Regions from separate parts of the Homo sapiens genome. Here region 1 is linked to region 2. The links are contacts of gene promoters, found by promoter capture Hi-C in human tissues and cell types (Jung and others, 2019). All regions are on one chromosome and are shown on one strand. The core of a region is centred on a gene start or on the middle of the fragment in contact, and the rest is flanking DNA. Distances in the headings are between cores, read along the strand shown.

Region 1 (4,561 bases), core at 429-2,928, 140 kb after region 2:
CAGTGCAAGCAGTTGCGGTCTCAATAGTGAAAACCAAAATGGGTAAGGCTTTTCTGGCAGTGAGTCTCTGACATGAACGGCTCCCTCTCTGCTCAGCGAGGACTTGGCCGCCCTCACTTGGAGTCTTGGTCTTTCTTTTCATCTAAAAGGGCGGAGTGGATCCCCAGCTTTTTCAGTTCTTCCACCAAGTCCCCATTCTGGTGCATCTGCAGAAGAATGTCACAGCCCCCTACAAACTCGCCATTGAGGTACACTTGCGGGATGGTGGGCCAGTTGGAATAGTCTTTAATGCCTATGGAGAAAGAACATTTATTTGTTATTTAAATGGTAAAAGCTGAACCATTCATGACTAAATATGTAATTTTGACCCACTAGTAGCAGACAACCCACTGTCCCTCCCTGGCTTCCCCCAATCTTGAGAACACTGTGCTTGCCACTAAGAGCATGAGTTTTTGTGTCAAAGAGACCAGTGGTTAGGCCCTGACTCTTCCAATTACAAACCGTCAGCCCTCAGACAAGTCACCTGACCTCTCATCCTGTTTCCACCCTCATCTCCCAAGGTTTTTTTTTTTGTGAGAATTAGGTAAGCAAGATTCTCAGTAAAATACCTGATACATTGCGGACCTTAGATTAATGGCAGAGGACTGGACTGGGTAATGCAAGTCACATAAGATACATAAGGCCAAAATTCTCCATCTACCAGTCAAGCTTCAAGCGAAACAAAACTTGAAGAAATGTCACAACCAACTTCATTTCCAAATGGATCCATCACGGTAATTCATGGCCAACTCGGGCAATCCCACCTGTGCACTTTTCATGACTGTGACTGTCTAAGTTGGTGCAGGCCGTCAGTCACTTCTCCTCGAGATGATGAGTTGTTGAGTTTTTTTTTTTTTTAATTTTTAACAATTACTTTTACCCAGGGAAAAATCCCTGTCCCACAGCTATGGGTTGTCAGTTCCCATCTATCCAGCCACTGTGATGGGCTCTCTGTGGAGTGGATGATGAGGCTCTGTGCAGAACCCGAAGTGACTGGTGAGTCTAATGAAGGCCCAGAGCTCAGCAAGGTCCCTGTCCAGGGCTGAGGGGTGGGGGAGTGAGACCCGCTCTGCTCTTAAGCGCTCACAGCAGCCAAGAAACCAACCAGCATGCATGTGATCAGTCCTGTGTGCAAATGGCTCTGAGGACACACATGAGATGAGGGACACTCTGTGACAGCGCAGCTGTGCAACTACTCTGTTCAATTCTGAGCCACAAGGATGATGACTGTAACAAAATGGTAAGAAAGAAATGTGGCTTCAATCTTAAGACATAAAAGATTACTCTTAACATTCCTCTTCATCAGTCTACTTCCTTTTCTACTTGTATGTTGAGATGACTGTGCTTTCAAAAACATAGTCGGCCATTAAAAAGCCTGTATTGGTCATGTTAAAAACGAAGATGGTCAAAGCATGGCATATAATAACTAACACTTATGTGACACTTTTATATTTACATAGATAGATATTTTTAAATGGCCAAAATGAGCATATGGATAAACAAAACGGAAAAGTCAACAGATTGTTCAAGTCCAGTACAGTTTACACAAATCGATTTTTATGTAAACAAACTAAAAATACAAAAACTTGCTCTTGATACCCTATAATTTATTATCAAACATTTTCCAAATAAAATTACTGATTTCAGTTATATCACAAGTCCCAATATACTATTTATTTTTTTCTTAAAAGTTATTGCCTTATTAAAAAAACTGACTTTGCTCTAAATGACAGCCCTAAAGAAAGCCCCTGAACCAAGGGCTTTATCTTCCTTCTCCAGACTTCACATATTAAGAAAGGGTTACATTGCTCTAGGCCTCCAAAAGGACACCTCTCAGCCACTCTGGGTGCTAGTAAAGAAACAACAGCTAGCTCTTTGGCAGCTGCCAATAAAGGGTAAATTCCATTAATCATCAAAATGTCTTTATAATGCCAAATATCTAGACATAGTAGAATACCCTGATGAATTCAAGTTGTTCATCATGGTGATGTTTGATGCTCCATCAACAAAAACAACTAGCATAATTTGTGTGTTTTTTTACTTTCTTCAAACTCTGTCCTCAAATACAAAGTCTATCAAAACTCACTTTTTACAATGATGCCGATTACAAAACTTTTACCTTTATGATGACTGAGAGCTGGGTGCGAGAATTAAGAAATATTTAAAGTAAACGTGAGCTTCTTTTCATTATCTTCAACTTTCTTAAATACCTTTTATACAAATGAATCATTTATGTGCATGAACGACCTGTTTTGTTTCAATGAATAATATATTGTGTGAAGCTTTCCATGATAATCAATTTTTACTGATTTATTTTGATGGATGTCTATAATTTCTGAAACACACCAAAAATGGAAATGTTTGCTGCCTGAGAACTACCCAAAACTACATGTTTTACCCAAAAAATACATGTTTTTAAAGTAAAATTGCTTTTCATCAATCACTTTTATAGTATCACACTCAATCGAAGCATTGGGCTTGCCTCATTGATTAAACTTTATGTTGCTGTTGATCATATGTCCTGACTACGAGAGAAGGGGAGACCCCCAGAATCCTTACCACCAAAATTATCAAAACAAGCAGGCTTTCAGACATTCTCAACACCCAACACACACAGCCACATGCAAGTGATACTAACTTCTCATGAGCCACCTGCCTGTTCTTGACAGCAGCTGACGGTTTATCAAAATTAAACTTAGCTGCTTCTTTAATTTTTAGATGAATAGGTGTAATAGGCAGCTGGCATCAAGGCCAAACGTTGGCACCCTTCTTAATGACTATGCTCTTTTCCATTTTTAAGAAAGTTGATTACCAGTTTAAATATTTAAGGAAATACCCAATTGCTTCCTATAGAGTGAAGTGAGAAACTCCTAATAATAATAAAAGACTACTCTTCATAAGTTGAATATTAAAATGAATCCTGCGGATCCACAAGTAACTGTTTACACATGGTTAATCTCTCTCACACTTTAGTTTTCAAAAACTGCAATATGCAGTGGTAGTTCTTACAAATATCACTTGAAATTAACTCAGAATCAGAGAGCTACTCCTGAAAATTAGAAAATCACATCCAAGAATGAATTTTAATGATAATCATTATTTCATATGTGATAGACGGTGGTGATTCCATCTGGGGCAGAAAATGCTGACTGCAAAGTTATATGGCAGAGTAACACTAGGAACTGGGAGTTAGGAGGCTATCTTACAAAGTCAGTTTACACGCATCTAATGCTCCACCAAAAAAACCCATACAAACAAATTCATATTCCAAAGTATCAACCCAGAAAGAGTACAGAAATGATACTTTAAAATTCCCTTCCAGAACTTTCAAAAGGTATTTTTCAAAATTCATCACATTCAGAACACTGGGCATTACTCCTGATTTGGACACTAAATTACGAGAGCAGCATAATCATAGTTTTCTTTCTTTTTATTTTTCCTGGTAGAACCTCACTACAGTAGCTTCAGAATCTGATATGAGTTCCAACTCTGTCTCTTACCTACTAGACTCTGTGATCTTGGGCAAGTTACACCACCTCTGAGAGTCACAATTTCTTCATATTCTCTAATTTAGAGAATGGCGTTAAGTCGAGATAAGATGATCTGAGCTGAAAGCACGGAAATCAGTAGACCCTCACTAGAGGAAAAGCAAGGCACGGGGCAGAGTGGGCAAGGCACAGGCTTAAGGATCAGTAGATCTGGTTTGCTAGCCTGTAAATGTAGCCTCAGACAAATCTGTTAATCTTTTAGCCTCAGTTTCCTCATCTGTAAAATGGGAATATACTCTACGCCTCACATATTATGAAGATTCCATGATATCTAAGGAATGAAATGAATTGAGCTCCCAGCATAGTACCAGGTACAGTGTGGACATTCTCTCCATACCAACATGCTCCACCACCCACCCTTCACAGTAATGCTTTTCTGAGAAAGGCAACAGAAAAAGCATAGGAAAATAAAGCAGGAAAAAGTGATTAAGTATACCCTAAAGTAATGAAAACGCCATTCAGGCCAGGTGCGGTGGCTCACACCTGTAATCCCAGCACTTTGGGAGGCCAAGGCTGGTGCATCACCTGAGGTCAGGAGTTCAAGACCAGCCTGGCCAACATGGTGAAACCCTGTCCCTACTAAAAATAAAAAAAATTAGCCAGGCATGGTGCCAGGTGCCTGCAATCCCAGCTCCTTGGGAGGCTGAGGCAGGAGAATCGCTTGAACCCGGGAGGCAGGGGTGGCAGTGAGCCGAGATTGCCCCCTGCACTTCAGCCTAGGCAGCAGAGTAACACTCTCTCAAAAAAAAAAAAATATATATATATATACCATTTATTGAGTTAAGGATTACTGAGTTTCATACTCTTTAAGCGTTTTACAAAAATAATCTTATTTAATCTTTACAAAAATCTGACAAGGCAGGTACAATTATCCCTACTTTACATAAGATGAAGAAACTAAGGCTCAGAAGGGTTAAGTAACTTACCGAAACTCACAGTGACAGCGCAGTGAAACCAGGATTTATATCCAGGCT
Region 2 (4,380 bases), core at 1,240-3,739:
CAAACTGAGACTCCGTACCTGTTACTAACATTAACTTCCCATCCTCGACTCCCTCCAGCCCCTGGCAGCTACCATTCCACTTTATGAATGAGACCACTCTGAGTACCTCATACAAGAGAATCTGTCCTTCCGTGACTGGCATATTTCATTTAGTATAATGGCTCCAAGTTTCATCCGTGTGTCTGACTTTTAAGGGTGAATACTTCATGGTTTGTGTTGTTTACCCATTCATCTATCAATGGACACTGGGGCTGCCACCACCTTTTGGCTAGTATGAATGATACTGCTGTGAACATGGATGTATGAATACATGCTTAAGTTCCGGCTTCAGAGTCTTGTGGGTATATATCCAGAAGCGGCATTGCTGGATTATGCCGTAATTCTTTCTTTGAGAAATCCTCATCCTGTTTTCCATAGTGGCTGCACCATTTTACAGTGCCCTCCATTAACACTTTTTCAGGCTTTTGAAAAACTTAAAATATTTGCTCCACAATTTTTGCATGCTTTATTTAGTGTATGTACAGAAAAGCCTTTCCATGTTCTCTACCAACATTTTTTGAAATAACCTATTTGAACTTTTTTTAGGAAATGTGTTATATTGTTTAAAGTGTCAGTGAACTGGCTGGGCGAGGTGGCTCACCTGTAATCCCAGCACTTTGGGAGGCCAAGGTGGGCAGATCACTTGAGGTCAGGAGTTCAAAACCAGCCTGGCCCACATGATTAAACTTTGTCTCTCCTGAAAATAACAAAAAAAATTAACTGTAAAAAAAAATCGCCTGTAATCCAAGCTACTCGGGAGGCTGAGGCATGAGAATCACTTGAGCCTGGGAGGTGGAGGTTGCAGTGAGCCAACATCACACCAGTGCACTCCAGCCGCAACAGAGCAAGACTTTCTCAAAAAACAAACAAACAGGCAGTGAATTGTTTACGAAGACCTAAACGGCATTTTTTTTTTTTTTTTTTGGGACGGAGTCTCACTCTGTCACCCAGGCTGGAGTGCAGTGGTGCGATCTCGGCTCACTACAAGCTTCGCCTCCCGGGTTCACGCCATTCTCCTGCCTCAGCCTCCCGAGTAGCTGGGACTACAGGCGTCCACCACCACGCCCGGCTAATTTTTTGTATTTTTAGTAGAGACGGGGTTTCCCCATGTTGGCTAGGATGGTCTCGATCTCCTGATCTCGTGATAAGCCCATCTCGGCCTCCCAAAGTGCTGGGATTACAGGCGTGAGCCACCGCGCCCAGCCCTAAATGGCATTTTAAATATCCGGATATGCTTTTACCACATTACACTAAGGTACAGCCAGCCCCCCATTTCCATGGATACTGCACCCATGAATTCGACTAACCTCAGATTAAAAATATTTTGGGAAAAAAAGAAATTCCACAAAGTTCCCAAAAGCAGAGCTTGAAGTGATGTGTAGGTGTAGCATTAGGTGTTATTAGTAATCTGATTTCAAATATAGTAGAGGATGCGCTGAGGTTATATGTAATTACTACCCAGGTCATTTTCTATCAGGGACTTGAGCATCCACAGTCGGTCCTGGAATCAATTCCCCACCGCCACCCACACCAGAAACGCTACTGTATTTACTTCATCCCTCAAAGACTGGCTGTGATCTAAAGCCCTCATCTACAGCCGTTTCCTGAGTCATTATCATTATCACCTGGGGAGCTTTTGAAAAGTAAAGAATCTAGGACTCCACCCAAGCCTCCTGAATTAATTTCCAGAATCTGTTATCAGTCAAATGCTTCCCCAGGCCATTCAGGCGGTGAGCCATGTATGTGAGCATGTCTGTGACTAGCTTGCCACAGAGGTATATTATTCTCATTTTGCAGATCAGTAATCTGACACCAATGTCATGTTCATCCTGTTGGCCCACCTGGTGCCTCCAGGCTGCAATGCTTTTGCTTATACTACTCCTGCCTCCTTTCTAGACCTGGAGAACTCCTACTCATCCCACAAAGCCCAGCTCAATAGCTGCCCCATTTGTGGGCCTTCCCAGCAGGCACTGGGAATGGCACTAAGCCCTGAGCTACCTTAGCCTCGGCTTCACCACGCAGGACCACATTATCTCATGTGGATAAGCTTGTGCCTGTGGTCCCTTTACGGGGGGTGTTCCTGGGGCCAGGGCTGGGCATGGACATTGCTGCGCTCCTAGACCTGCACAGAAGTGAGTTTTCCAGTGCGGGTGAGAACGGCCCCCTCTGACCCCCACCGCGGTCCCACACGGGCAGGGGTCAGTGCGCAGCCCTCCCCACAGCCTCCCCTCGTGCCCAGGACTCACTCTGCTGCCCTGGGAGGCCCTGGCCCATTCCCTACGCGAGGGATTGAACCGCACGACCACAGTCACCCAGGTTCTCCCCTCCTCATCTTCGTAGATGCCAGGCCTCTGGATCCACAGACGGCCAGGGGGCACCCCTAGACGCACAGAAGCTTCGGAGGCCATGGCAAGTCTGCAACCGGGACCCGCCTCTAGGCTCACACGTGTAGCTTTCCAGCTGCGCAATCTCCTTAAATGGAGCAGCTCCGGCGTGGGTGGGGCCCGGGCCGGCAGTGGGGGCGGGGCCGGCAGTGGGGGCGGGGCCAGTCGGGGGAGGAGGGGGAGGAGGAGGAAGGGGGAGGAGGGAGGAGGGAGGAGGGAGGAGGAGGAGGGGGGAAAAAAGCAACCTGCAGCAGGGGCTAGGCAGGGACGAGGCCAAAGAGCAGCGGAGTTAGGAACCCGGCCTGGGTCTCCTGGAGGGGCTGTGGCTGGACCGGCAGCTGCTGGAGGCAAAAGGGCGGCTCCCGGGGATAGAGCTGCCCAGGCTTCACCCCAGGCCTCTGCAAGGAATTTGGCTCCTAAGACCTATTCCACCTCCCTTCCACTGGTCCCAGTCCCTCCGCAGCCTCCTCCCTGAGCACCCCTGCCCAATTTTCTGTCAGGTGATTCCCCTCCTTTGCTCCCCACGACCCCCTGCCAACCATCCTGCCCCAGATCCTGAGCTGGCATGCACGACCCTGGTCTCTCCTATCCCTGTGGCCATTCCTTTAACAGGACTCTGTGTCAGGGACCCTTCTCTGAGCTTAGAGCTTAGAGGCATGGGGGGCGGGGGGCGCTGTAACCTCAGTGGACTCTTGCCCCTGGAGGTATCTGGTGAAGGCGCATCCTGCACAAATCAAGCTCCCTCTCCTTAGAAAATAAGCCAGTGCACTATCAGCATCTGAGCTCAGGATCAGATAAAGCCCACAGAAACAAGGCCACCGGAGGCCACGTGGCCACCTGGCCAGCCCATCCTTGGCCATGGGGCCCAGAGTGCCCACTTGGCCTGGTCGTCTTACTTGCTCGACTTTGTCAAGAGGCCTCAGAAGCTCAAGAACATAGCAAGAAGCAGGTCCGTTCTATAAGCACCCTGGGCTGCTTCTAAATGCACCATGAATAGGAACCTTTTCCTTTTGAAAACCACAAGCATGATTCTTCTAGTTCAAGTGAAGATTAGTATTGAGATGATGCCATTCTGCTGGGGAGATGTGAAAATGATTTCTGGACAGTCCTGATCCAGTGTAAATGGCAGGTAGGATAACCACTTTTGAAGAACTCCCTGGGCAGCTTCTGTGGAGGACTGAGTCTTGTTTTCACAGCAATTCCACCTCCATCCCCAGTGTTTTTCCAAGGAACCAACACTTGGGGTGGGAATGGAGTGGGCCAGGAAGACAAGGGACATCACAGTCTCATATAATGTGATCCATACATGGAATCACGTACGTGTGTCACCTTTGCCATATTCCATTGGTCAGGGGTAGGTCCTATCCTTACTCAAGGTTATGAATACCAGGAGGCAGGGATCATGGGGACCCCTGGTCTCCTGGGCCCCCCTGAAGCCTGTTTGCTGTAGGTACCTACCCTATGGGACTCCTCTGAGGATCAGATGAGGCTGTGTGTATAGTGTTAAAGCCTGACACATAGTGAATACTTGAAATACCCTGGTCAATAGTTATGTTCTCAGACTAGTTCCCTCTCCCAGGCAGAATCCATCATTCCTACCCTTGTAACCCCAATGCAATTGCTATTTATCTCTATCATTTTCTGTTGCAAATATATATTTTGATATTCTCAACCTCACTCCCTGATGGGCAGGTGTGTGGCTGTCAGTGGGGTTGGAGGTAAAGGTTGCCTAATATGTGGGGAGCCCCTATGCCATGTCAGGCATTTTTCATAGGGTATCTCACTAACACCTCCCAACAACTCCATAAACTAGAGACCGTCACCCCCATTTCATAGATGAAGTATCAGAGGCTTGAGTGGCTTAGCAACCTGAATGAAGTGGGTAGCAGAGGAAGGATATGGACCCAGCTGTTCCTGGCTCTAACATGCATGCTGCTTGTTGACTGCCTTGGCCAAG

What was found. Contacts are between HindIII fragments. The study calls those that stand out against the background at their distance.
Region 1: a contact is called between a fragment that was not itself captured here and the fragment with the promoter of TCL1B in region 2, in 1 of the 25 tissues and cell types used here (lymphoblastoid cells).

Annotation. Positions count from the first base shown.
Region 1 is chr14:95,539,678-95,544,238 of GRCh38, reverse strand. GLRX5 (glutaredoxin 5) reads right to left here. Exons shown (of 2, transcript NM_016417.3): 2 at 1-292. The coding sequence ends at 114. Among named protein-coding and RNA genes, the nearest start is that of GLRX5, 6.9 kb to the right of the region's middle. The HindIII fragment of the contact is 4,983 bases long and covers 1-4,169 here.
Region 2 is chr14:95,684,535-95,688,914 of GRCh38, reverse strand. TCL1B (TCL1 family AKT coactivator B) reads right to left here and starts at 2,489. Exons shown (of 4, transcript NM_004918.4): 1 at 2,286-2,489. The coding sequence starts at 2,447. The HindIII fragment of the contact is 12,005 bases long and covers 2,261-4,380 here.